Regions from separate parts of the Homo sapiens genome. Here all the other regions are linked to region 3. Evidence: promoter capture Hi-C in human tissues and cell types (Jung and others, 2019). All regions are on one chromosome and are shown on one strand. The core of a region is centred on a gene start or on the middle of the fragment in contact, and the rest is flanking DNA. Distances in the headings are between cores, read along the strand shown. Region 1 has its middle 330 kb from the start of CCDC85A. Region 2 overlaps LOC101927213 (a long non-coding RNA gene). Region 3 holds the start of CCDC85A (coiled-coil domain containing 85A). Region 4 has its middle 290 kb from the start of CCDC85A.

The links. The method cuts DNA at HindIII sites, captures the fragments that hold promoters and counts their contacts. A contact is called where the count stands out against the background at its distance.
Region 1: a contact is called between a fragment that was not itself captured here and the fragment with the promoter of CCDC85A in region 3, in 1 of the 25 tissues and cell types used here (lymphoblastoid cells).
Region 2: a contact is called between a fragment that was not itself captured here and the fragment with the promoter of CCDC85A in region 3, in 1 of the 25 tissues and cell types used here (thymus).
Region 4: a fragment that was not itself captured here is called in contact with the fragment with the promoter of CCDC85A in region 3 in 1 of the 25 tissues and cell types used here (H1 embryonic stem cells).

The regions. Positions count from the first base shown.
Region 1 is chr2:56,508,088-56,515,141 of GRCh38, reverse strand. No RefSeq gene overlaps it. Among named protein-coding and RNA genes, the nearest start is that of CCDC85A, 330 kb to the right of the region's middle. The HindIII fragment of the contact is 7,618 bases long and covers 1,021-7,054 here.
Region 2 is chr2:56,600,785-56,608,398 of GRCh38, reverse strand. All of the region lies in intron 4 of LOC101927213 (a long non-coding RNA gene), which reads right to left. Among named protein-coding and RNA genes, the nearest start is that of CCDC85A, 420 kb to the right of the region's middle. The HindIII fragment of the contact is 4,704 bases long and covers 3,870-7,614 here.
Region 3 is chr2:56,179,193-56,186,261 of GRCh38, reverse strand. It overlaps CCDC85A (coiled-coil domain containing 85A), which reads right to left and starts at 2,272. Exons shown (of 6, transcript NM_001080433.2): 1 at 1,362-2,272. The coding sequence starts at 1,637. It overlaps LOC100129434 (a long non-coding RNA gene), which reads left to right and starts at 492. Exons shown (of 3, transcript NR_125368.1): 1 at 492-564. RefSeq lists a silencer at 2,273-2,602. The HindIII fragment of the contact is 12,191 bases long and covers 1-7,069 here.
Region 4 is chr2:56,472,312-56,479,713 of GRCh38, reverse strand. No RefSeq gene overlaps it. Among named protein-coding and RNA genes, the nearest start is that of CCDC85A, 290 kb to the right of the region's middle. The HindIII fragment of the contact is 5,789 bases long and covers 1-5,465 here.

The sequences.
Region 1 (7,054 bases), core at 3,580-6,079, 330 kb before region 3:
ACCAAACAAATCTAAAATTAACAAATTTGCTAAGAGTTTCAATGTTTTGAGCTTGCTATGTCCTATAACATCCTTGGTTTCAGAAAGCTAAGCTACATAAACATGCTTTATTGTCATGTCATTTCACTCATTGGGTAGCCTATATTCTCTAGAAAGACTGAAGATAAGCATCATCATAAATTCAGTGTGGCCCAATTCCTAACATTCAGTCTGTTCCTAGTGGATAAAGACAGTAAGGTCTCACGAACTCACTATCATAGAGCATTTCAACAAATTACAGACCTGAGTTTTGGCTCTAGTAGGATCTAACTTAGGAATCATAATATGTTCAGGAAGAAATGTAGTAACAGCGCCAGACAGTATAAAAACATTTTTGAAGATGCTTATATACAAAACCTTTTATTTTTTTAGGTGAACATCTTTAGCTCATTAAAATGAGTATCTCAGAGAGAATAAGATTTGGAACACAATTCACAATGGTAAATACAATTGCTGACTGCTTTTAGTTTTGTATAATTGTACTGCAAAATAGTTTGTTCCAGCAGCTGTCAGAATTGTCTAAAGTGTGGGCATACGAGATGTTTGCTTAATGCTCTGTGCATACGACCCAGATGCTCCATCCTGCACTCAAGCTGTCTGCATCCCTAGTGCCCTAACCCTGAGCCTAAATAGTACAGGAACAAAAGTCAAAACTATCTCATGCTGCAAAGAAAATAATATATGATATTTATGCCTCATTATGTGCTTTCCTGTATCCTCCAGATAAAACTGCAGCTTCTCCAGAAAGGTAGAGTCAGTTCCTTATAACCCAGAAGCTGTTTGTCCAATCTCAGATGAAACTGCACATGTGCTTTTCTTCTTTCTCCTCTCACCTCTGTCTGGGAGGCCTGGTCAACTTACTGCTACTTAATGCCTTTCATTTAAGTGGAGACTAGGGAAATTAAATAAAATTAAACCACAATCAGTCTCATTTTAGCTGCTTATTAACCACTCTAATAAAGGTTGATAACACATAAGATAGAAATTACTACCTAAATGAACATGCTTAAAGCCTCCAGACTCCTTTCCCATGTTAGTTCAGTATCTCATGAACTGGATTAAAAACACTCACTCTGCAGAATTTTCAGGAAGTATGTGGGAGCTTGGATGATCACTTAAATCTTCTTGGTAAACATACATCCTAAGTTTTTTATACTTCATGCCTATAATACCATGTTACCCAGTGGGGCTCAAAAATACCCATTGCTAAGGGGTAGGAACTTGTTACAATCTCCTAATGGTTAAGAAAAGAGAAAAAAAGTGTACAATTTCATATTTTTTCATGTTCCAATACTTCCTCAGAGAGAGGTCAGCATGGCTAATAAACAATTTTTGAAAGGTAACAATTTAAATGTCATTCTCTCATTGTAAAATAGTGCTTCTTATTTTGTCTTCTGCTACTAACCTTCTTCAGACCCATCATAACCCCAGGAAAAATGATAATGATCATTTCTAAATCTGGTAAAAATATTGTGCTAAAGCATGCCAACCCAGTTTCCTGAAGGGCTAAATTGATTTTTAAGGTATACCATAGACATGGCAGAGAGCACATGAAATTGGTTAGATATGTAAGAACATTTAGAAATTAGAAAACCTATCAAGTTTATCCAATTCTTTCTCCTGGGATTGTTTCCTTTTCTAAATATTGTTACTGCTTGAGTTCACAATTTCATATTCTCTGCTTCCTTCTGCTTTGCTTCCACCACCAAATCTAACAGATAATAACATTCTTCTTGCTAACAGGAAAAAAAATACATTGAAATTAGGATGCAGAGATATATCAAGTCTGTTGATAGAAATCCTCCTACTAAATAATGATGCCAATAACTACTCATTGAATCTAAGCCCTGAAAAATGCTGGAAATGATTTTTTTCTATGTTAATTCTGCAGACTATGTTGACAGGCATTTAATTTCTTATGCTAAAACAATCCCTCATCCACATCTCTGTACCACCAACACTGAAAATTAAAATTCCAGTTCCTAGCTCATCTTGGCTGTCTTACTGTGTACCTTTGCAGGAGGGGCCCTTGGCTTTATTCCCACAGCGGGGAGACCTCCTGGCACAATCCTAACTAGAAATGACATCCTGCTGCCCTGCATCTGAAGACAATGATCAGCCAACAGAAGCACAGAAAAGAACAGCACTCCCTAGGCAGGAGATGCTTTTTTTATTCACAGGAGGCAAGGAATTCAATCTGAGGTTTGTTGCCACTGGGAGGATTCAATAAACAAACAAAACAAAACAGAAACACAAGATAGAAACAAATACCCGTATGTGACTCAAATTCACTTTAACCATGCCACTCATATTTCTGACTTACACTGTGAGTTGCACATTTGTACCATTCAGTGAGAAAGGCAAAATGGATGACAGTCAAATCTGTGGGAGAAGAGGATGAATTTTTCTTTGATTAGAGTAAAATACAAGCACCTGTGAGACAACAAAATCAAGATCTACAAGTGGTCATTTGCTAAATGGGCTAGTGTCCAGGTGTGAAGATTCAGATGAAAACAAAATTTTAAACATCAGATGTATAAGGAGCTATATAGCATATATGAAACTAGGGACTGCAGACATGTTGGGATGGTTTTGTTTACTCAGGGAGGCTGGGTGAAGTGAGAACAGGATAGAAAAGGAGAATACAAACAGGAGAGGAAGAGGGAGACTAGAGCAGTATGCTGAGAAACAACAACATTGGAAGGATTAGCAGAGGAGGGAGAAACATGCTAAGGATCAAAGAAAGAGGTACCAGAGAGAAGTGGTAGGAAAGCCAGGCAGTATGGTATCCCAGGAGCCTGGGAAGGGGCTTTTTCAAGGAGAAACTAGTCAGCCTTGTCGCATTGCTGCTGAGAGGTCAAATAAGATAAAAGCTAACTCTCTACTGAATTTATCAACAGAGGTCATCATTGACTTTGGCAAGAGACATTTCAATTAACTTGTAGGAGCAGGAGTCATATTTCAGGGGGTTGAGGTGTGAATGAGAGATAAGGAGACATCAGGTACCAGGAGCTATTTCCCCTCATACTCTGTTGGCTCTTGGGTGCCTAATACATATAGAAGCACATACTGAATGACGAACAAATACTACTTAGGATAATATTATATCGTGTTTTAGGTTATTACATGTGTGTTATATAATTTCTAGTTATAACAAATACAGAGTCAATGAAAAAACCTCAAAAGAAAAGATAGATTTCCTGGTGAATGTCTGATTAATCATAACCCTGGATAAATACATTTTAAAAATAACCAATCACATTTCCAAAGTTCCTACAAGGCTACAGAAGTAAAGGAGCAGAAGGGAGAAGAATGAGGAACTGAGAAAGCTAATTTCTTCCTCCCTCTAGAAAACTAATAGGCTCTCCTCCCCTCTATGCCTGGTTGGAGATGGGGGGTAGATGAGACACTCAAATCCCCTGAACATCCCATCTTAATCTGGAATCTGGATGCATTGACTCAGGTTAGGGCCTAGGGTTTCTAACTCATTGGCATCACATTCTGAAGGGTCTCCAGCCTTGTCATTCTTAGATACATGAAAAGAAGCCCGGATCTATGGAATCTCCTCCTACTAATTACAATGATTTATGCCTTCTGGAAAGGTCCCAATTTGAAAAGGCATAAGATAAAGGAAGTAAACACACACCAACCTGGGATAGTACATAAAATACTCTTTGGTGTTGTTTTGTTTTGTTTGAGACAGGATCTCCTTCTCTCGCCCAGGCTGGAGTGCAGTGGCGTAATCTCGGCTCACTTCAGCCTCTGCTTCCCGGGCTCAGGTAATCCTCCTACCTCAGCCTCCCAAGTAGCTGGGACTACAGATGCACACCACCACAGTCAGCCAATTCTTTTGTACTTTTAGTAGAGATGGGGTTTCACCTTGTTGTCCAGGCTGGTCTTAAACTCCTGGGCTCAGGTGATCCACCAGCCTCAGCCTCCCAAAGTGCTGGGATTACAGGCGTGAGCCACTGTGCCCAGCCTAACACTCTATTTTAAAAAGCTTCCCTTTGCTTATCTGTAGTAGGATAGAAGACTATTTATTCTGTCATCATTTACATCTCTACAGTCTTTACGGCTGCCCCTGCCTAATATTCCCACTTATGTGGGTACAAAGAGAGACATTTGTACATTCAAACATACTGGACTGGGATCCATATAAATCTATGTATTTCTGTCCATATGGATGATCTACTTCCGTCTCACCAACTGGCAATACTGTCTACATGAGACCAAGCACCGTGATGGTGAATGGGAGATTCAGTCAACCACCCAGATGCTTTGTTTGCATCCTGAGAATCAGCAAGCATCTGGACTGTCAGCTGAACCCTGCTCTTCTCCATCTTGCTGCTGGTTGCTATGCAAGCACAGCCCCTGTCTGTTTTGAAACAAAGCTAATGAGTCTCATTTTCTTCATTTGTCTGTGAAAATGTGACACTAGGCAAATTGGAATACAGTTCACAAAAACAAGGACAGGTTTTGTTTTGTTATTTTTCTAGTTCTGCCCATCACACTATTCTCCTACCCCTAGACAGGATCATCATCACTACAAAACAATCCCTTCCATGTTAGGAGAGTGTGTGGGTTTTTCACAATAAATTTGTGAGGGAGAATGGCAGGAATTATACACTTACTGATGTAAGATCTTAGGGTCGGAGGACTTAACTGAGTAACCTGAAATCACATACCTGGTGATCTGCCCCTCTGGTGAGGGGCAGAATTGAAGTAACAACACAAGAAAATCAGAAAATGACCAGCTGTTATTTCTTTTCCCCATCACAACAAAAAAATCCCAGCATTTCAGGAAGGGAACGTTGAGAGAATCTTTCTGATGAAGATTTACTTTTTAGTTCACAAGAAAGAAGAGAACTCTTTGAGATATGTTTAGATCAAGGACCAACAGTTTAAATTTATACCGCTATTATTTATATTCATAAAATATAGGAGATCCCAACTTATAATATAGAAATTGTTAGGTGAAGGTACATCAACAAGTTGAAATATTTAGAGCCTCTAAAATTAAGGATATGACATTTATTTTCAATAATATGAAGAATTACGTAAATTATGTTAAGTGATGCAGTAATATGTGAAATATTTTGGGTATGCTTCCAAATATGCAGGAAATATAGATACCTAGGAAAAAGGAGGGAAGAAAATATATCAAAATACTAACAGCAGTTAAATCTAGGTGATGGTATTATGAGTCACATTTATCTTTCTTTTTACACTTTTTGCCTTTTGCAAATTTTATGCAATAAATAATATAGTGCATGCCGTGGTGCTCCATCCAGATATCCCATCCCTTAATCCGCTTTCAGGACTGAAACACTGCTCCTTTTTCCATCACCTCCAGCTATTGGGAGACTAAAGTTGCTTCCTTCTTTTTTCTTTTAAGACATAGTCTTGCTCTCTCACCCAGAAGTGCAGTGGTGTGATCACAGCTCACTTCAGCCTCAACCTCCCAGGTTCAAACAATCCCCCAACCTCAGCCTACTGAGTAGCCAAGACCACAGGCACACTCCACCACGCCCAGCTAATTTTTTGTTTTTTAGAGATGGAGTCTTGCTATGTTGCCTATGCTGGAGTGCAATGGCATGATTATGGCTCACTGTAGCCTCAAACTCCTGGACTAGTGATCCTCCCACTTCAGCCTCCCCAGTAGCTAGAACTACAGGCATGTGCCACCAAGCCTAGCTAATTATTTTATTTTATTTTTATCTTTATTTATAGAGATAGAGTCTTATGTTTTCTGGGTTGGTCTTGAACTCCTGGGTTCAAGCAATCCTCCCATATCAGCCTCCCAAATTGCTGGAATTACAGGTGTGGACCACCATGCCTGGCCTCTAAAGTTGCCTCCGTCTTAAGGGCAGTTGACATTCAATGGCCAACCTGTTTAGATGTATATAGGTCCAGACCCTCATCATGGCTCAACTAAAGGGCCATCACAGCTCCAGAGCTCCCTCTGAAATCACCTGGGACCTTTATGCAAGGCCTCTCATTTTATCTTCTCTCTACACAATCTTTTTTCCTTCAACCCAAAATGGGTATTGACCCCAGGAACATACACTTATAAAGTTTCTGCATGCAGATCTCCTTCTCAGCCTCTGTTTTTTAGGGGAATCCATTCTGTAACAATTGGTGCCAGGAGTGATTCAAGGAAAACAACTATAAAATGACATTTTGCTGCTGAATCACCTACCGACCAATCAACCATGAAAAGTTCATCACTGGTGGTAAGTGAAATACTGACAGCTCCTAACCTGGAGTGTTGGGACAAGTATTAAAACTTTCGCTGAGCATGAACAGAGAGAGGATAGTGGTGGAAGTGACTACACTTATGGGTGTGGTATCTTCAGCTTTAAGAAATATGAAAGATAATAATTATAAAGACTATGAAACTGGATTGTTGCTGCTGGGGTTAGGAGCCTGTCATTGACCACCTCATGGTTGCACTATAGATACATGAGTTGAGTAGTATAGTGGCAAGGATAGAGGCTATGCATGGGCCAGCAGCATGAGCTCCCACTCACTAAGACTGATCTAACTACTGCTAATGCCACATGTCCAACTTGCTAACAACAGAGATCAAATCTTAGCTGCTCAAATGGCTCTACCCCTCAAGAAGACTGCAAAGCTATTTGTTGGCAAGTTGATCAGATTAGGCTGTTTTTGTCTTGAAAGGGGCAGCAACTCAACTTTAATAGAATCAGCATACGTTTGGTGTATGGGTTTTACTTTTCTACCTGCAGAACCCAACCTAGCCTCCCTCTGAGTTTACACAGTGTTTCATCCACTGACACAGGATTTCTCATGCTTTGCAGTGGCCATACGGCAAGGCGGTCCACTGGAGCTATCACTTACTACACCACCTGCAAGCTGCTGTCCCAGTGGAGCAAAGGAAAGGCCTGATAAAGCAACAGCTGGGGCACCTGCTTGCAAATGATGCCCTGGAAAGATGAAGAATCTTTCCCCAGAATGTTGTATCACACTAAATCAATGACTTTTAATGGTGCTA
Region 2 (7,614 bases), core at 4,972-7,471, 420 kb before region 3:
TGTGATGGTGGAGACATGACATTATGCATTTGTCAAAACTCACAGAATGTACAACCCAAAATTGGACCCTATGATAAACTGTGAAATTTAGTTAATAATAATGTCTCTGAAAGTTAATAAAGTCTCTAAAAATAATAAAATAAAATATAGATGTTGTCAGATTGGATTAAATAAAAAACAAGATTCAACTACACATTATCTATAAGAAACATCTTAAATATAAAGATTCAGATGGGTTCAAAGTACAGATATGGAGAAAAATATATCATGCGAACTCCAATCAAGAGAAATTTGGGGTAATTATGTTAACTTCAGACAAATCAGACATCGGAACAAAGAAAATTATCAGAATAGAGACAGTACAGAATGATAAAGGGATCAATTCTCCAAAAAGACATAATCCTGTGTATGCGCTTTACAAAAAAGCATAAAAACACCTGAAGCAAAACCAGATAAAACTGCAAAAAGAAATAGATGAATCTACTCTTCCAGCTGGAGACTTCAACATATCTCTGTCAGTAATTGATAGAGCAAGCAGGCAGGAAATCAGTAAAGATATAGACGACCTGAATAGCACTATCAATGTGATCTACTTGACATTCATAGAATACTCGTTGCAATGTCAGAATACACATTGTTTTTAAGCACACATGAAAAATTCATCAAAATAAACCACATTCTGGGCCATAAAGCATACAAAAACAAATTTAAAAGAATAAAAGCCATGCAAAGTATGTTCTCAGGACTCAGTGAATTAAACTAGAAATCAATAACATAAAGGTAGCTGGAAAATCACTGAATATTTGAAAAGCAGACAACACACATCTATTAACTCATGAGTCAAAGATGAAACCTCAAAAAAAATTTCACTTGTCCAAAATGGCACGAAAAGTGCATTGAACTCTAGTGTATGTTGTCATATGGAAATGATAGGAAGTAGGGCGGGGGGATGGACAGAGCTCATAATATAAAAGGTCTTCCAGATCATAAGGAAAATGTTAGTCTTTATTCTCTAAGTGAAATTGTACCATTGATGTCACTAAGATCATATATGAAGTTTAGAACATTATCTACCAGATGTACACACCAACCTATTGGCTATAGAGTAGGCCAGATATTATAATTCTGAATTAAGGCTGAGGCAGCATGATTGGAAAGAAAGAATGCCAAATGATAACCAGGAGGTATAACCAACAGAACCTCACACTCCAGTATGGGTTGGAGATAAAGAAAATGGAAAGTGATTATCCTGATATAGACCAATAGACAGATAATGATGCTATTTACTGACAGAGGAAGTGAAAACATTTGTTTTTAACACAAAGATATTAATTTTTAATAACCTAAGTAAAAAATGGCTATTGTATTTATCAGCTGGTAATCAATTTATTCTCATTGTAAGGATTCTAAAAGACTTATTTTGAAATTCTCAGGGTTGCTTCCAAGATGGCTGGATAGCAACAGCTCCAGTCTGCAGCTCCCAGCGAGATCAATGCAGAAGAAGGGTGATTTCTGAATTTCCAACTGAAGTACCTGGTTCATTGCACTGGGGCTGGTTGGAAAGTGGGTGCAGCCCATGGAGGATGAGCTGAAGCAGGGCGGGGCATACCTCGCTCGGGAAGTGCAAGGGGTGGGGGGATTTCCCTTTCCTAGCCAAGGGAAGCCGTGACAGACCATGCCTGGAGAAACAGTACACTCCTGACCAAATATGGTGCTTTTCCCAAAGTCTTAGCAACCAGCAGACCAGGAGATACCCTCCCGTGCCTGGTTCAGCAGGTCCCACACCCACGGAACCTTGCTCACTACTAGTCCAGCAGTCTGAGATGGACCTGCAATGCTGCAGCTTGACAAGGGGAGGGGCATCGGCCATTGCTGAAGCTTGAGTAACTCACAGTGTAAACAAAGTGGCCTGGAAGTACAAACTGGGCAGAGCCCACCACAGCTCAGCAAGGCCTACTGCCTCTATAGATTCCACCTCTGAGGGCAGGGCATAGTAGAACAAAAGGCAGCAGACAGCTTCTGCAGACTTAAATGTCCCTGACAGCCCTGAAGAGAGCAATGGTTCTCTCAGCACGGCGTTCAAGCTCTGAGAAAGGACAGACTGCCTCCTCAAGCGGGTCCCCGACCCCCGTGTAGCCTGACTGGGAAACACCTCCCAGTAGTGGCCGACAGACACCTCAAACAGGCGGGTGCCCCTCTGGGATGAAGCTTCCAGAGGAAGGATCAGGCAGCAATATTTGCTGTTCTACAGCCTCCGCTGGTGATATCCAGGCAAACAGGGTCGGGAGTGGACCTACTGCAAACTCAAACAGACCTGCAGCTCAGGGGTCTGACTGTTAGAAGGAAAACAAACAGAAAGGAACAGCATCAACATCAACAAAAAGGACATCCACACCAAAACCCAATCTATAGGTCACCAACATCAAAGACCAAAGGTAGATAAACCCACAAAGACGGGGAGAAACCAGAGCAGAAAAGCTGAAAATTGCAAAAAACAGAGTGCGTCTTCTCCTCCAAAGGATTGCAGCTCCTCGCCAGCAACTGAACAAAGCTGGACAGAGAATGAGTTTGACGAGTTGACAGAAGTAGGCTTCAGAAGGTTGGTAATAACAAACTTCTCCGAGCTAAAGGAGCATGTTCTAACCCATCACAAGGACGCTAAAAACCTTGAAAAAATGTTAGAGGAATGGCTAACTAGAATTAACAGTGTAGGGAAGACCTTAAATGACCTAATGGAGCTGAAAACCACGACACGAGAACTTTGTTACTCATGAACAAGCTTCATTACCCAATTTGATCAAGTGGAAGAAAGGATATCAGTGACTGAAGATCAAATTAATAAAATAAAGTGACAAGACAAGATTAGAGAAAAAAGAGTGAAAGAAATGAACAAACCCTCCAAGAAATATGGGACTATATGAAAAGACGAAATATACATTTGATTGGTGTACTGGAAAGTGATGGGGAGAATGGAACCAAGTTAGAAAACACTCTTCAGGATATTATCCAAGAGAACTTCCCTAACCTAGCAAGGGAGGCCAACATTCAAATTCAGAAAATACAAAGATACTCCTTGAGAAGAGCAATCCTAAGACACATAATTGCCGGATTCACCAAGGTTGAAATGAAGGAAAAAATGTTAAGGGCAGCCAGAGAGAAAGGTGGGGTTACCCACAAAGGGAAGCCCATCAGACTAACAGCAGATCTCTCGGCAGAAACCATACAAGCAAGAAGACAGTGGGGGCCAATATTCAACATTCTTAAGGAGAAGAATTTTCAACCCAGAATCTCAAACCCAGACAAACTAAACTTCATCAGTGAAGGAGAAATAAAATCCTTTACAGACAAGCAAATGCTGAGAGATTTTATCACCACCAGGCCTGCCTTACAAAAGCTCCTGAAGGAAGCACTAAATATGGAAAGGAACAACAGGTACCAGCCACTGCAAAACACATGCCAAATGGTAAAGACCATTGATGCTATGAAGAAACTGCATCAGTTAACCGGCAAAAAAACCAGCAAACATTATAATGACAGGATCAAATTCAAACATAACAATATTAACCTTAAATGTAAATGGGCTAAATGTCCCAATTAAAATACATAGACTGACAAACTGGATAAAGAATCAAGACCTATTGGTGTGCTGTATTTAGGAAACCCATCTCATGTGCAAAGATGCACATAGGCTCAAAATAAAGGGATGGAGGAAGATCTACCAAGCAAATGGAAAACAAAAAAAGGCAGGGGTTGCAATCCTAGTCTCTGATAAAACAGACTTTAAACCAACAAAGATCAAAAGAGACAAAGAAGGCCATTACATAATGGTAAAAGGATCAATTCAACAAGAAGAGCTAACTATCCTAAATGTATATGCACCCAATACAGGAGCACCCAGATTCATAAAGCAAGTCCTGAGAGACATACAAAGAAACTTAGACTCCCACACAATAATAACGGGAGGCTTTAACACCCCACTGTCAATATTAGACAGATCAACAAGACAGAAGGTTAACAAGGATATCCAGGACTTGAATTCAGCTCTGGACCAAGCAGACCTAACAGACATCTACAGAACTCTGCACCCCAAATCAACAGAATATACATTCTTCTCAGCACCACATTGCACATATTCTAAAATTGACCACATAATTGGTAGAAAAACACTTCTCAGCAAATGTAAATAATAGAAATCACAACAAACTGTCTCTTAGACCACAATGCAATCAAATTAGAACTCAGGATTAAGACACTCACTCAAAACTGCACAACTACATGGAAACTGAATAACCTGCTCCAGAATGACTACTGGGTAAATAACAAAATGAAGGCAGAAATAAAGATGTTCTTTGAAACCAATGAGAACAAAGACACAATGTACCAGAATCTCTGGGATACATTTAAAGCAGTGTGTAGAGGGAAATTTATAGCACTAAATGCCCACAAGAGAAAGCAGGAAAGATCTAAAATCGACACCCTAGCATCACAATTAAAAGAACAAGAGAAGCAAGAGCTAACAAAATCAAGAGCTAGCAGAAGGCAAGAAATAATTAAGATAAGAGCAGAAATGAAGGAGATAGAGACACAAAAAAACCTTCAAAAAATCAATGAGTCCAGGAGCTGGTTTTCTGAAAAGATTAACAAAATAGATAGACCACTAGCAACACTAATAAAGAAGAAAAGAGAGAAGAATCAAAAAGATGCAATAAAAAATGATAAAGGGGATATCACCACCGATCCCACAGAAATACAAACTACCATCAGAGAATAATATAAACACCTCTATGCAAATAAACTAGAAAATCTAGAAGAAATGGATAAACTCCTGGACACATACACCTTCCCAAGACTAAACCATGAAAAATTTGAATCTCTGAATAGACCAATAACAGGCTCTGGAATTGAGGCAATAATTGATAGCCTTCCTGGCAAACCAAATCCAGCAGCACATCAAAAAGCTTAACCACAACAATCAAGTTGGCTACATCCCTGGGATGCAGGGCTGGTTCAACGTATGCAAATCAATAAACGTAATCCATCACTAAACAGAACCAAAGACAGAAACCATATGATTACCTCAACAGATGCAGAAAAGGCATTCCACAAAATTCAACAGCCCTTCATGCTAAAAACTCTCAATAAACTAGGTATTGATGGAACGTATCTCAAAATAATAAGAGCTATTTATGACAAACCCACAGCCAATATCTTACTGAATGGGCAAAAACTGGAAGCATTCCCTTTGAAAACCAGCACAAGACACGGATGCCCTCTCTCACCACTCCTTTTCAACATAGCATTGTAAGTTCTGGCCAGGGCAATCAGGCAAGAGAAAGAAATAAAGGGCATTCAGTTAGGAAAAGAGGAAGTCAAATTGTCTCTGTTTGCAGATGACATGATTGTATATATAGAAAACCCCATTGTCTTAGACATGAAGTACTTGACCATGCCTATGTCCTGAATGGTATTGCCTAGGTTTTCTTCTAGGGTTTTTATGGTTTTAGGTCTAAAATGTAAGTCTTTAATCCATCTTGAATTAATTTTCATATAAGGTGTAAGGAAGGGATCCAGTTTCAGCTTTCTACATATGGCTAGCCAGGTTTCCCAGCACCATTTATTGAATAGGGAATCCTTTCCCCATTGCTTGTTTTTGTCAGGTTTGTCAAAGATCAGATAGTTGTAGATATGTGGCATTATTTCTGAGGGCTCTGTTCTGTTCCATTGGTCTATATCTCTGATTTGGTACCAGTACCATGCTGTTTTGGTTACTGTAGCCTTGTAGTATAGTTTGAAGTCAGGTAGTGTGATGCCTCCAGCTTTGTTCTTTTGGCTTAGGATTGACATGGCAATGCAGTCTCTTTTTTGGTTCCATATGAACTTTAAAGTAGTTTTTTCCAATTCTGTGAAGAAAGTCATTGGTAGCTTCATGGGGATGGCATTGAATCTATGAATTACCTTGGGCAGTTTGGCCATTTTCACAATACCGATTCTTCCTACCCATGAGCATGGAATGCTCTTCCATTTGTTTGTATCCTCTTTTATTTCACTGAGCAGTGGTTTGTAGTTCTCCTTGAAGAGGTCCTTCACAACCCTTGTAACTTGGATTCCTAGGTATTTTATTCTCTTTGAAGCAGTTTTGAGTGGGAGTTCACTCATGATTTGGCTCTCTGTTTGTCTCTTATTGGTGTATAAGAATGCTTGTGATTTTTGTACATTGATTTTGTATCCTGAGACTTTGCTGAAGTTGCTTATCAGCTTAAGGAGATTTGGGGCTGAGATGATGGGGTTTTCTAAATATACAATCATGTCATCTGCAAACAGGGACAATTTGACTTCCTCTTTTCTTAATTGAATACCTTTTATTTCTTTCTCCTGCCTGATTGCCCTGGCCAGAACTTCCAACACTATGTTGAATAGGAGTGGTGAGAGAGGGCATCCCTGTCTTGTGCCAGTTTTCAAAGGGAATGCTTCCAGTTTTTGCCCATTCAGTATGATATTGGCTGTGGGTTTGTCATAAATAGCTCTTATTGTTTTGAGATACTTCCCATCAATACCTAATTTATTGAGAGTTTTTAGCATGAAGGGCTGTTGAATTTTGTCAAAGGCCTTTTCTAGGTCTAGTGAGATAATCATGTGGTTTTTGTCGTTGATTCTGTTTACATGCTGGATTACATTTATTGATTTGCATATGTTGAACCAGCCTTGCATCCTGGGGATGAAGCCCACTTGATCGTGGTGGATAAGCTGTCCGATATGCTGCTGGATTTGGTTTGCCAGTACTTTATTGAGGATTTTTGCATCGATGTTCATCAGGGATATTGGTCTAAAATCCTCTTTTTTTGTGTGTCTCTGCCAGGATTTGGTATCAGGACGATGCTGCCCTCATAAAATGAGTTAGGGAGGATTCCTTTTCTATTGATTGGAATAGTTTCAGAAGGAATGGTACCAGTTCCTCCTTGTACCTCTGGTAGAAATTGGCTGTGAATCCGTCTGGTCCAGGACTTTTTTTGATTGGTAAGCTATTAATTATTGCCTCAATTTCACCAAAAGCAATGGCAACAAAAGCCAAAATTGACAAATGGCATCTAATTAAACTAAAGAGCTTCTTCACAGCAAAAGAAACTACCATCAGAGTGAACAGGCAACCTACAGAATGGGAGAAAATTTTTGCAATCTACTCATCTGAAAAAGGGCTAATATCCAGAATATACAATGAACTCAAACAAATTTGCAAGAAAAAAGCAAACAACCCCATCAACAAGTGGGCAAAGGATATGAACAGACACTTCTCAAAAAAAGACATTTGTGCAGCTAAAAGACATATGAAAAAATGCTCATCATCACCGGCCATCAGAAAAATGCAAATCAAAACCACAATGAGATACTATCTCACACCAGTGGGAATGGTGATCATTTAAAAGTCAGGAAACAACAGGTGCTGGAGAGGATGTGGAGAAATAGGAACACTTTTACACTGCTGGTGGGACTGTAAAGTAGTTCCACCATTGTGGAAGTCAGTGTGGCGATTCCTCAGGGATCTAGAACTAGAAATACCATTTGACCCAGCCATCCCATTACTGGGTATATACGCAAAGGATTATAAATCATGCTGCT
Region 3 (7,069 bases), core at 1,023-3,522:
CCCAAAGAGACTGGCACTTAATAAACACTCTGTTAGTAATGAATTCAACCACAGGAGAGAGTAAGCCTTGGCATTTTTCTGACTGGAGGAATCTTCCTACCTGCACCCACTCTAGGGACTATATGACAATGACTTTCGGCCTCGGGAGACGGCCATCTCCACCTGAACTGGGCCCAGCACATAGGTGAGCCTTGAGCATTCCACTCTTCCCACTCTTTCTTGCCCCAGAATCCCAGAGCTGGAGCACTGAGGCAATTCCGGAACAGCATCTACTGTCTGATATGTGGGGATAGGAGTGGAAAGGGGAAAAGAACAGCTTGTGCCTTCGGGAATTTGCTCCCTGAAGTCCCTGCAGTGATTTCGTTTGTGTCTGGCTTCCTACAAACAAAGCAGAACAATGAGAGGAAGGAATACCAGGAGGCACCAGCGCTAGCTGGAAGGAGAGGAAGTTTGTGGTGCTCGCCAGCAGGGCGGTTCCCGGCCACTAGTGTACTGCAGCTGGGCAGGCACACTCCTCGCAGACCCGGCGCTCTCCAAGGAGAAAAGAAAGTTAGTGGGCTTGGGGTACGTTTCCCTTCTTTTCCTAGAAGAGGGTGGCAGGGGGGCTGGCTCAGAAAGAAACCATCACTGACCAACACTTGGGGTACTCTGTCAAAATGCTGCTCCTTCCATACTGAGTCTCTTTGCTCCTCCTCTTTCCCCCAGTCAACCTGGGGTTAAGTGGGAAGGGGAGTAAGGCAACTCCAGGGGATGCCTTCCAAACTCCGGGAGAGGGAAAGCACAGGAATTGGGAGAAGACGTGAAGGCAGAGCTTGAACTCCTATGTACCCGGTGACACAAGACTGCTCTGAGGGTGGCGCCCGCTGCTTCTCCCGGGCGCCCCGCCAGCCGCTCTCCCTGGCAGTGGCGCCCTTTCCTCGCCCTCTGCCCGCCCAAGAGCTGCTGGCCCAGAGCAGCCGCATTCCCGACCCTCCAAGGCGAAGATCCCCTGGATTCACCCCCTCACTGGCCTTTCCGCCTAACTGACTGAAACCCGGCTCCCCAGGCACAGATTTTCCAGCCTCCCTAAGAAATGAAAGGTTCGCGTGCCCTTCACCTCCCTCCCTGCTTTCCAGCGTCCTCAGCGCCTCCCCGAACAGCCAGACAGTGGAGCGCCCCGTGTTGGGGAGAGGAGGGGAGCAGACGCCTCCGAAGTTTGGAAAAGTTACACAGGGGCTGGGGACTGGGGGTAGGGGGTGCCGACCGGGAGAAGGGGAGGGTCACCTGTTGAGGGAGGGAGGGAAAGTTTGCCTGGCCCCGCCTCCTCCTCGGGGCACCCCGCTCCCAGCCGCGCCGCGCCTCCCCACCTGGCCCGCGCTCACCTTGAGGCCGCGGATCTCGCCGAGGTGCAGCTGCAGGCGGCGGTTCACCTCGCGGATGAGGTTGCTGTGGTCCAGCATCGCGCTCACCTTCTCCGCCTCGGCGCGCCGCAGGCTGCGGATCAGCTCCTCCTTGCTCCACTGCAGCAGCTCCTCGTCCGACACTTTGGACAGGTCCTCCACCGGCGCGGGCGGGGCCGCGGACGAGCCGGCCGGGGCTGGGGAACAACTTTCCGCCGCCGCCGCAGCCGCCGCCGCGCCTCCGGCCGCCTTCGACATGGTATCCGCGGGGTGGCAGGTGCAAGTGGGTGGAAGAGGCGAGGCGACTCCCGAAGGCGCGGGCGCGGCGAGGCCGCCTCCGCCCACACCCCTGTGCGCTCCGGCGAGTCAGCGGCACCGCCCAGGGGCCGCTGGGTTGGGGCGGCGGGGGTCGCGCTGGGTGGCCATCCTACCTCGCCATCCCCGCGCGCGCGCCCGCGCTCCCCCAGGGCCCGGCAGCCAGCCGCTTGCTGCTGCCGAGGCCCGTCCCAACTCCGCGCAAGTCCATGGTGAGGGGCACTGGGGAGCCCGGGGCTGCCGCGGGAAATCCTCGGGGACAGCGGGGGAGCTGCACCGCCGTTCCCCTGCCCTCTCCTCCGCCCTAAGCCGAGACTGTCGCCCCCCGCACTCTCTGCCCTGCACACAGGCGTGCACGCACACGCACTTTCCTCCCCCTTGCCCAGCTGCAGCCCCCGGCTTCTCCCCTCTCCTAGCTTGGAGGGCGCGCCGGGCACCGCGGCGCCTCCCCGGCTGCTCTAGCGACGCCGCCGCGGCTGCCCGAAGGCTGCTGCGCTCCTCCTGCCGCCTTCGCTGCGCCCGCGGCCGCTCCTAGGCTGCTCCGGAAAGCCTTCGATTTGCAGAGCGGAGTCGAGAAGGGGTGGAGGGTGGGGGACCGGCTGGAGGAGGAGCCTGGAGCTGGGGCCACCCGTAACCCGCAGCAGCTCCCGCATGGGCTGGACGCAGCTGCCACTCGACCGCTGCCCGGGCCCTCGAGGTGCGCTCCCGGCTGTCCTGCCCGGGAGGGCTGGGGGCGCGGCTCTTTCTGCGCCCGGGCGGGTGGGGCTGGAATGGGGAGAAGGTGAGGAGCTGTGGCCGCCCGGTCTTTGGGAGGCTCGCGCGCGCCACCGTGTGGCGGAAGAAGCTCCCTCCTCTGCCCTCTGCACACCGGCCTTGTCACCAGGCAGGGGAAACAGCTGCTGACCCAAATGCGAGGTGCTTCGTATTTGGAGGGATCGGGGATCAGGAAAGATGGGGTAGCAGGACCTGAGGGATAACCAGTTATTTGCACTTTGGAGAATGGGAGGAGAGGCAAATGGCAAAAACGGGGGTTGGGGAAAGGGGCAGCTTAAGAAAATCCAAATGGTCTGAAAAGGGCGAAAAGAGGCGTCAGGGCACTGCTCTTATGGGGCTACCCATCCCCACCCCCCACTCTCGCCCCACCCCTAGGCCTTTGTGTTTTCTAAAAATCCACTACTCTATGAAGAAGCTTCGGGAGAAGGTACTGGATCTTTTAAATTTTTATTTGAAAAATATCAAAGCCTTTAGGCGAAAATAAAATACCTTCATCTCCTGCTTCCTGAAACCTGGATTTTAAGGTCAGCACAGTCACCTCCCCTCGGAGCAAAGCAAGCCCCCTCAGGCAAGCTGAAATGCCAGCCAAGGAGATTTCCATTTTCTTCTATGCCGCAGGCTGCCAGGCGTTTACTGGGTCGGCTTTTTTATGATGGTTATTTCTGGAAGGAGGAAGTCTGAGTCCCTGGCTTCTATCTTTGGGCTATCCTCTTGTAAAGTTGGGTGGAATCGTCTCTGGGCTGAAAACATGCTTTTGCCTAAAGAGGTGGATGCCCTTGACCACCGCATGTTATTTCCAGTGGGGTACAGGGCCGGAAAATGGCAAGGATCTACCCCCACCGGGTTTCAGTTAACCCGGGTGCAGAGGGAATAATCTCTATCTGGTAGGATGATAATCAAAATCAGTCCCTTCACCCGCCGGTCAGTGCGTGTCCCCTATTGGGGACACTGAGACCTGGCTCCCGGGAGAGGCAAGGAAATGTGGTACTGCTTACGGTGACCAAATGGCCTTAACATTCCCCTCAGCTTAACTAAACTTTAGACAGGTTTCTTCCTAACTGTAGGCCCCAGACCTTCCTTTTCTCAGAGCATTTACTTTAGCCAACTTCCATTGGTGAATGTTTCCTCTGACCCTTTGACATGTAAATCTCTCCGCCTCTTGCTGGGTTTTACAGCCTGGGGATCTTTCTCAGGGATCTGTGAGGCATCCCTTTGAAATGTAATCATCAAGGAAAAAAGGGTCCCTATCTCCTAGTGTTTGTGGAGAGGAGGAGCCTAACTTTAATAAGTTCCAATTAGGAAACACAAATGGCCTCATTACACTGACCAACTTCCCATCCTAATCTCCTCCACTAGTCTTCTACTAGTTCCCCTCTCCCTCCCTCTCTCTCTTCCCTATTGCAATAGCCTTGAATAATTCCCCCTTGTCTGTTTAACTATATCGGATGCAATTTTTCTTTGACACCTCCAAGCCGCTCTCACGCCCACAGAAGGCTCTGCTCAACACAGTTCCTAAGACCAGTTTTGTCACAGAAAGGGAAAGTGAAGGTCAGAAAAAGATAAGTCCTATCTCTGTTACTTGTTAGTTCTTGTCCTTGAACAAACCATCCGACCTTACTGGCCCTCGGGCAGCTAATGATATGGTATACAAGAAGCGCTTGATCGAGCCACCCTACAGAAATGCAACCTTACTATTACTGATATTACATATTACATTGGGCAGCCTCTTGTCTAGAAATAGGAACCAGGACTTCTGTTTATTCCTCCATCACGGGTTCTTCAAGAGTCGTATTCTAAAATGAAACAGCCAGCCCCCTTCTCTGCTAACTCCCTCTGATCAGTTAACACCAAATAGATATGAGAAATCAGAGAGATGGCTGAGAGGAAAAATTAGACTTGTGTTGGGAAGACAAGGAAGAAGGAAAGCCAAAAAAAAAAAAAAAGTCTCCACAAATTATATACACTAGCAGTGGATTACAGTTGAGCTAGATCACCTTAAGGTTTTCATGTTTCTAATTTTGGTCATTGATTCAGAATAATAATTATCTGCATGAATGAATAATGTTGCTTCATGTTGCTAAGGTCATGTATGGTGTCAGGAGCTTCATTTGACTGCTAAAAACAGAAACTCAAAAAACAGTCACTTTAAAAAAGTCATTTATTTTTTCTCACCTACCTGGTATTCTAAAGAGAGGCAGCTGAGGGCTGGTATGGTATCTTCATGAGGTCGTCAAAATCTTAGGCTCCTTCTCTCAGCTCAGTCCCCTTTGGGATGATTGCCTCGTGTCCATAACATGGTTGGTGGAACTCTAGCCATCCAGCTACGTGTAAGGCAGGAAGAAGGTAATAACAACTGCAAAGGGGCACATGCCCCTTTAAAAACTTTTCCTGGTGGCCGGGGGCGGTGGCTCATAACTGTAATCCCAGCACTTTGGGCGTCCGATGCAGGTGGATCATTTGAGGTCAGGAATTCAAGACCAGCCTGGCCAATATGGTGAAACCCCATCTTTACTAAAAATACAAAAATTAGCTGGGCATGGTGGTGCGTGCCTATAATCCCAGCTATCGGGAGGCTGAGGCAGGAGAATCGCTTGAGCCTGGGACGCGGAGGTTGTGGTGAGCCAGGATCGTGCCACTGCACTCCACTCTGGTCGAAAGAGTGAGACCCTGTCTCAAAAAAAAAAAAAAAAATCCTGGTAATTGACCCAGTGAATTTTGTTTATGTTCTAATAGGCAGAGCTTACCATATAATCACCTCCCAGCTGCAAGGGAAGCTAGGACAGTGTTTTAAGTTGGGTATATTAAATGGAGATTTCTGAAAACCAGCCATAAATGACCCTACGTCTTTAGTCCTGATGGTTTTATATCATATAATTTTCTTCAGTCAACTCTATTTCCCCCCAGCTCACTGTTACTCAGCCTAGGTTCTCACTAAGTCTCACCTGGCCCTTCTCACTGGTCCCTCTGACTACTGCATCACCTCTCTCGAATCTGCTTTCCACACAACTTCCCAAGTGAATCATCTCAAAAAGTCAAGTCTAGCTACTTTACCCCTGAGACAGATTGAATTATTGCTGATAATTTTTCACAACCTCCCTACAAAATTAATTAACATCGGCCAGGTGTGGTGGCTCACGCCTGTAATCCCAGCTCTTTGGGAGGCCAAGGCGGGTGGATCACGAGATCAGGAGATCTAGACCACCCTGGATAACACGGTGAAACCCCGTCTCTACTAAAAATACAAAATATTAGCCGGGCGTGGTGTCGGGTACCTGTAGTCCCAGCTACTCGGGAGGCTGAGGTGGGAGAATGGCGTGAACCCAGGAGGCGGAGCTTGCAGTGAGCCAAGATAGCACCACTGCACTCCAGCCTGACGGCATAGCGAGACTCTGTCTCAAAAAAAAAAAAAAAAAAAAATTAACATCACCTTCCACCATGTGATGTTGTAGCACCTCCCCTACAGGGGGCAGTTTTTCTCCCCTCCCTACTGGTATTGAAAATCATATTGCAAGCATATGACTTGCTGTACTAACGCATGTGTGTGCACCTGACAGTGTACCCCTTCTCTGAAGAGGTCTCAAAAGGCGTCTGTCTGCCCACTCACCCGTCTGTTCTTTCCACGCTTCACCAGGAGAAGAGCTAACCTTGGGTAGCTGCTGTTCCTTCAGTCTGAGCCACACACTCAGCCACCCCAGCCAACCTGAAGATCTGCAGCATGAAGCAGAGCTATGCTCACAGACTCACAGATCTGTGTGTGAGAAAACAAGACTGTTGTTTAAGCTACCGACTTTTGGGGAGATTTATTGTGCAGCATTACTAATGCAATAGTTAGCAGATACAACTCCCCTGCCTAAATCCCTTTGGGGGCATCTCAGCACCTTTCTGTGGAGTGAAGCTACATTTCTTAGCAGAGCATGTAAGATGGACACAGTCTGATGCTTGCTTACTTTTTCAGCTCCAACTCCTACCATACTTTGCCTGCCTCATATTTCATACTTTTTCAGTTCTAAACTGCCTTGTAGCTCCCTGTCAGCATTCAATATACCTCCGTACCACACTGATGCTCTTTTCTCATGCATGAAATGCCTTCCTTGCCTTATCCTTCTGAATAACTTCCAACCAGATCCTTCAAAAGGCATCATCTTATCCAGAGTGCTGGCATCAGCCCACATTTCCCTGGCAGAGGCAAAGGTGAGTGTCCCTCTCCACTCCCATAACCTCCAGTGCATACCCCTAGTGCAGTACCTAAAATAGAATGCTGAATTACAGGAAAATATAAGCAGAGGCTCAAACTAATCCAGTCCAATCCCAACAAAAGGGTTTAGCTCCGGCCAGGATTTAATATTATCTCTTTTCTGCTTTCTCCAAACCATACAAATTTTTGTCATGCTCTACAAAACTCCTTGGTGCCATTAGGGATGTTACTGAGGACATTGCTCACGACATCCCATAATACCTTATAAAAACTGCACCTAATCCCTGTGGTTCTTTGGGGGAACTACATAATTTTCATCCTATGGACACTGAATTTTGCAATTGGTTATGTATTCCTCTTTGTGCTGGCTTCTAGGAAGTTAGATCTAAATTTGTGGCCCACCTTC
Region 4 (7,402 bases), core at 1,322-3,821, 290 kb before region 3:
GGAGGCTCTAGCAGGAAGATCTGTTTTCTTGCCTTTTCTAGCTTTCAGAGACTACACTCCCCTTTCAAGCCAGCAAATGCATCATTCTAACATCTCACTCGCAGTATGTTTTTTTTTTTTTTTTTACTTTCCTGCCTCCCTCTTTCCCTTATAATTAGCCTTGTGATTACATTGGAGTGACTCAGATAAGACAGGGTAGTCTCCCCATCTCAAAATTCTTAATCACACATGCAAAGCCCCTTTTGCCATGCTAGGTAATATATTCACAGGTTCTGGGCATTCAGACATGGGCATCATTTGTGGATCATTATTTTGCCTACCATGGTTAAAATATCATTAAAGGAATTGAAATGTTACACTAGAAAATATACAGCTAATGCAAAAGAAGATAGTAAAGAATAAAGAAACTAAAATGACAAACATATAGACAGCAAAAACAAAAATGGCAGACATAAATAAAACCATAACAATAACATTAAATTTGAAAGAATTAATCCTATCAAAACAACAAATTATTAGACATAATTTTTTTAAAATTCAACCATGTATTGTCCACAGCAAACGTATTTTAGATTCAAAAATACAAGTAAATTGAAAGCAAAATGATGGGAAAGATATGCCATGTGAATAGCAACCAAAAGAGAGCAGGAATAGCTATGCTAATATCAGACAAATTAGAGTTTTAAAAAAATGTTAATAAAAAATGTCATAATAAAAAAGGATCAATCCATCAGGAAGACATAACAATCATAAACATATATACACCTAACAACAGAGCCTCAGATACATGAAGCAAACCTGAACAGAATGTAAAAAAAATATATAAGTTTCAACAATCATAATAGGAGACCTTACTTTCAATAATGGATAGAGCAACTATTCAGAAGATCAGCAAGGAAATATAGAACTTCAACAGCTCTTTAAAGCAACTAGACATAGTAGACATCCACCCAAAAGCCATAAAATTTATGTTTCTTAAGCACACATGGAACATTCTCCAAGACTGATCATATGCTAGGCCATAAAGCAAATCTCCATAAATTTAAAAGAATTGCAATTACACAAACTATGTTATTTGACAACAACAGAATAAAGTTATAAATCAATAACAAGAAAAGATGTGAAATTCAAAATTACATAGAAATAAAATAACAAATGCCTAAATAACTAATGGATCACAGAAAAAAAATCACAAGGGAAATTAGTTAAGTTTCGAAATGAATTAAAATGAAACACAATATACCAAACTTATGAAATGCAGCAAAAGCAATTCTCAGAGAGAAATTTATGGCTATAAACACCAATACTGTATTACAAAAAGAAGAAAGACTTCAATTAATAATCTAAACTTCCACCTTAAGTAACTTGAAAAAGAAGAACCAACTAAACCCAAAGCAATAGAAAAAAAGGAAATAACAAACAAATAAATAAAACAGAGAATAGAAAAACAATACAGAAAAATCAATGAAACAAAAAGTTAGATCTTTGAAAAGGTCAGCAAAATTGAAAAACCTTTACCTAAACTGACTAATAAGAGAGAGAGAGAATGCATATTACTAAAGTCAGAAGTGAAAGAAAGATGTCATTTTTGATCTCATGGAAATAAAAAGGATTAAAAAGGAGTACTATAAACTGTACAACAAGAAATTTGATAACTTAGATGAAATAGACAAATTTCTGAAATAACAGAAACTACCAAAATTAACTCAGGATAAAAAAGAAAATCTGAATAGACCAATAACAAATTAAGAGGTTAAATTTGTAATTTAAAACTTTACCACAATGAAAATCTCAGGCCCATAATGTTTCACTGGTGAACCCTTGCAAATACATAAAGAGGAATTAAAACAGATACTTCATAAACTCTTCCAAAAAATAGAAAAGGAAGGAACAATTTTCAACTCATCATATGAGGACAGAATTACCAAAACAAAAGACATTAAAATAAAAGAAAACCACAAACTAATAACCATTATGAAAATAAAAGCAAAACTTTTCAGCAAATTACTAGTAAATTAAATTTAGAAACATATAGAAAGGAATATCCACCATAACCAAGAGGGATTTATCCCAAGAATATAAGATTGATTCAAAATCAAAACATCAATCTATGTAACACAACATACCAATAGAATAAAACACAAAAACCATATAATCTCCATAAATGCAGGAAAATCCTTGTTAAAACCCAACACACCTTCATTTAAAAAGAAAACCATTTAAAAAAACAGAAGGAAACTTCCTTAACCTGGTAAAGAACATCTATAAAATACCTACAGCTAGCACCATGCTTAATGGTGAAAGACAAAGCTTTCTCCTTATAATCAAGAACAAGACAAATCTGTTCACTCTCTTGCCATTTCTATCTAACATTATACTGTAAGTCATACTCAGGGAAATTGGGTCAGAATAATACATAAAATTGGAAAGGAAGAAGTGAAATTATCTTTTTTGTAGATGACATGATCTTCTACATAGAAAATTAAAAGAAGTCCACAAAACATTACGTTAGCTGTTTAAAAATCTATCCAGGCCTGCAGCAACTCGATTCTTGCCTCCTCAGAAGAAAGAATTATGCTGAGGGGCATAAGGCAGGGTGAGAGACCAAGGTGAGTTTTAGAGCAGGAGTGAAAGTCTATTAAAAAGTTTTAGAACAGGAACGAAAAGAAGTAAAGTACACTTGGAAAGGGGCCAAGCGAGTAACTCGAGATCGAGCCAAGTGTGCTGTTTGGCCCTTGACTTAAGGTTTTTATACACTGCATTTCTTCTCCCTTGATTTTTCCTTAGGCAGGCTGTCTACATGCACAGTGGCTTGCCAAAACTAGGGAGGGGCCACATGCGCAGGTGTCTACTGAAGTTGTGCACATGTTCATTTGAGGCATTTTTCCCTTACCAGTCAAGTGTTTCCAGAGGAAGGTCATATACCAGTTAAACTCTGCCATTTTGCTTCTCGGTGTGCATGCTCAAGCCTGCTTGCCCAATTCCTGAAATCTTATCAGGAAGCAGCCATCACCAGCTTCAGGTGTTTTCTATTATTGGAAGCGTGCTTCCCCTGGTGCCAGCTGCAAACAATTTTTTTTTAGTGAGTCAGTTTAACAAGCACCTAACGATCACCTGATGGCCACCTGAAATTCCTGGTTGGTGGGGGTGGGCTTCTCCTGCCCTGCTCATATCTGCCTAGCTACCTTCTCCAACAATTATAATTAATAAATTGGTTGAGCAAGTTTATAGGGTACGCAATCAATGTACAAACACAACTGTATTTCCATATACTAGCAACAATCTAATAATTATATTATAAATCAATTACATTTACAATAACTTCAAAAAGAATAAAATATTTAGAAATACATTTAATAAAAAAAGAATAATGTTTGTACACTGAAAAGTACAAAATATCATAGAAAGAATTTGAAGACCTAAATAAATGGGAAAACATCCAATGTTCATAGATCGGAAGACAATGTTAACATGACAATACTCCCCCAAATAGTTAAATGCAATCCCAGTCAAAATCTCAGCTGCTTTTTTTTTCTTTTTTTGTAAAAATTGACAAGCTAATCCTAATATTCATGTCTAATTGCAAGGAACCCAGAATAACCAAAACAATCTTGAAAATGAAGAAATTTAAGAATTCACACATCCTGAATTCAACATCTGCTACAAAGCTATTGGAATCAAGATAATGTGGCACTGACTTGAGGACAGACATATAGATCAAAGAAATGAAATTGGGAGTCCAGAAATTAATGCTTACATTTATATTCAACTGATTTTCTAGAAAGATGCCAAGATGATTCAAATAGGCATGGAAGATATTTTTGGAGCAACAAAATTATTCTAAGATTCTGGGGATGATTGCACAACTCTCTAAGAAATCATTCAATTGTACACTTAAAAAGGGTGAATATTTCAGTATGCAAATTGTACCTTAATAAAGGTGTTTAGGAATCAATGGATTAACTTCAAATGTATGCATTATAGATAGATGAGGCATAAAGTCACTCATGAATTTTTAAGGGTAGAGAAAAAAGGGATAGTTAGACATTTCAGACTTTCAGTGGTTAAAATCCTATACTCAAATGTGTGTCTCATTTCACAGATTGAGAAAATGAGGAAAATTGGGAGAGTTTCTTGTGCTCTGACCAGTTCTGATGAGCTTTTGGTCAGTGCCAGCTTTGTCTGAGACAGAAAGCCAAGAAAGCAAAAATCACTCAAGTCACTGTGGGAAGCAAAAGGTAAAGATTAGAAACAGGCATGTTGGGTTTGTTTCGGATCAGCACACATTTGGATGCTTTTAATACTGAACATTTATTAAATGCAAGCAGCTCACTGAGCCAGAGAGAATTTGGAGCTATTTGTGGCCTCTAGCTCCTTGGTCTGAAAAATTGGAGTGAATATCAGAGTTCATTCTACTCCAGGCTTAAGACCTTCTCTGAATTTATGAAATTGGAAACATAATATTCGAATCATTTGACACAATTATTCATCTATAACATGGATGTAAGTGTTTTTAGTATCTTTTCCCTTAAAGTTGAGTAGTGTAAAAGTAAAGCCCTGCATGTTCTAGAAAGATTCACCTTTTTAATGAATTAAGTACATTTTGTATTTGTTTTTGATTACCTTATCTCTAGTCCCACTAGCTCTGAGCCTTGTATAACGGTAGCAGTATCATGTTACCAGAACCTGAAATCACACTTCCCTGGGATGTTCTGATGGCAGAGAGTGCAAAGAAATGACTTCTCTGGAATCGTTCCAGGACAGCATGCTGTCAGGGCAATTTGAGGATAATATGCACAGTCCAGTGAAGGTTGCATAATTGCCCATGTGCTATTTTTAACTCATTCTCTCGAGTTACACCATTGGCACAGATAAGCCATTACAATGTGCTCAGATACCTATTAAAAGTGATTAAATAAGTGGCATGGACTTAGTGGCATATAGTCGTATCTTAAGTTTGACAGGTGAGAGCTGCTTATAGCATTTTTCCCTATAGTGCTATTTATTTATTCTCATATCACCCCCATTATTTGGAGAGGTAACAAAAGAAGGAGTTGAGAGGGAAATCAACTCACTTGAATCATTGCTAGGTGCTGAGGTCAACACAAGGCAAGTGACTAACTAGGTTTATAAAAATTCACTCTGATAAAAATGAAAGCACCTTTATTTCCACTCTAAACAAGTCACTGAGATAAGCTTCTCTGACACCTACAAAAGGCATGGTAATATTTATTTTCTTCAGAGACTTTTCTCCTATGGCTATTAAAACAGAGCTCCACTTAAAAATCAATATACAGTTCACTATCTGAGGGATAAATTGTCAATGGCACAAAACTGCAAGTGAGCCAGATTGTTAATATGCTGCAATCCTGTGCTCCCAGCATCTCTAATGTCCTCGTTCCAAGTTCCCCTCATCCCTAAGACCTCTTCTCCTCCTACTTCATCTTCTCCCTTGAAGTTGGAGGAGTTTCAGACATGAGCCAAGTGGACAAGCCCATTTTTTTAAGCATGCATGCATCTCCAATTTCCCTGAAATACCTCCTAGGTCTGGGTAGCTGTGAAGGAAAGAGGTAGTGAAATGCCCCAACGATGATCGAAGGAAAAGGCTAAAAGTGTCACTGAGAGGCCCAAAGATCTCTGTCATGACCTACAGTATGCTTTATAATTCCATAATGGGTCTTCAAATTGAGGATCAACTTGAGTGATCAATTCCAGCATAACAACCTGATCCAAGCTTCTCTTCACTCAGCTTTTAACCAGATTATGTGAGACTCTTTAAAGAACAATTTTTAAACTGCATAGAAGATATTAAGCCACCTAAAGTTGGGAGAACTGGGATATCCTTGCAACATTGTATTTCTGACTAAAATAAGCCTCCTTAAAGTATGTGGTATTCTAGCAAAGGCTAATATAAATCCCTGGCACTACTCAAGGGCTAAAGGATCCTGACTCCAACTCCAGCCTCACAGCATGGAGTTCCCTATGCACTCTCTTGGCTCTTTTTTGATGCAAAAGCATGAAGTTACTAAAAGAAAGCCAGGACATCTTAGTGCTGTCCTGGCTGCCTGTAGATCTGTATTGAGGACCTAGCATGATTAGCTCAGCCCCCAGTGATATAAGTCAAGTATGTCTAAATACTCTGACTCACATATTTAGATTCTTAAGAAAGAAATCCCTACAATGTCTGCAAAAACAGTAAATGGAAGAGTATAAGCTCTAAAGTCACTCCTGGAGTCAGTCCTTACTTTCTGATTTGTAAACTGTGCGATCTTGGGCAATCATGTAACATTTCAGCACATCAGTCTGCCATGATATAAAGTTGTGCTAATAACAATACTCTCCTTCAGAGAGTTATTTGATGATTAAATCAGACAATGTATGTAAAGTACTTATGCCAGAGCCTGACACATAACAATTTCTTAATAAATATTTGCATGTATTTGTGTGAGCATGAGTATTGTATCATTTGTAATACTTGGTGATGCTTTAAAGCATGAGATTCAAGAGTCTAAAGATCAACAGCTCCTCAGAGGAGTCTTTTGTCCATCTCAAATAAAGTCCTGTCTGCACAATTGGGAGATATATCCAATAGGGTAGCCATGCAATCTGGACCATGATTGGCCCCTATCTGAAAACAGCTTCTATTCTGCAGCTTTCATTAGCCAGATTCTTACAGCCTTCCTGGGAGATGTCCTAAAATGTGGTTGCAGTTCACCCAGAATATTTCAAATTGACTGAAGTTGCATTGAAAGTGGTGCTTCTAGGCCGGGCACAATGGCTCATGCCTATAATTCCAGCATTTTGGGAGGCCAAGGTGGGTGGATCACCTGAGGTCAGGAGTTCGAGACCAGCCTGGCCAACATTGTAAAACCCCGTCTCTACCAAAAATATAAAAGTTAGCTGGGCGTGGTGGAAGGCACCTGTAATCCGAGCTACTTGGAAGGCTGAGGGAGGAGAATCGCTTGAACCCGGGAGGCAGAGGTTGCAGTGAGCCGAGATGCTGCCATTGCACTCCAGCCTGGGCAACAGAGCGAGACTCTGTCTCAAAAAAAAAGAAAGAAAGAAAGTGGTGCTTCTATAAACATGTGAAACTTGCATTTTATATGAATATTTGCATACATGCATACATATTTGCACAATAAAATTTAATCTCTATGAAGAAAAGAATGTTCTGCCTGTCTTGTTCAACATTATATATGCTTGCATCCAGAAAGAAAAGTGTCTAGTGTACAATGGACATTCAATAAATATTTATTAATTAAATGAATACTCACTTATAGATGTTTTGTTCAACTAATATTTTAATACCTACTAAGTATCAAGCCCTTCCATATTTCTGGTAAACAAGACTGATACAATCCCTGCATTAATGAAAATTACAGTTTAGAGGAGGAAAAGCATT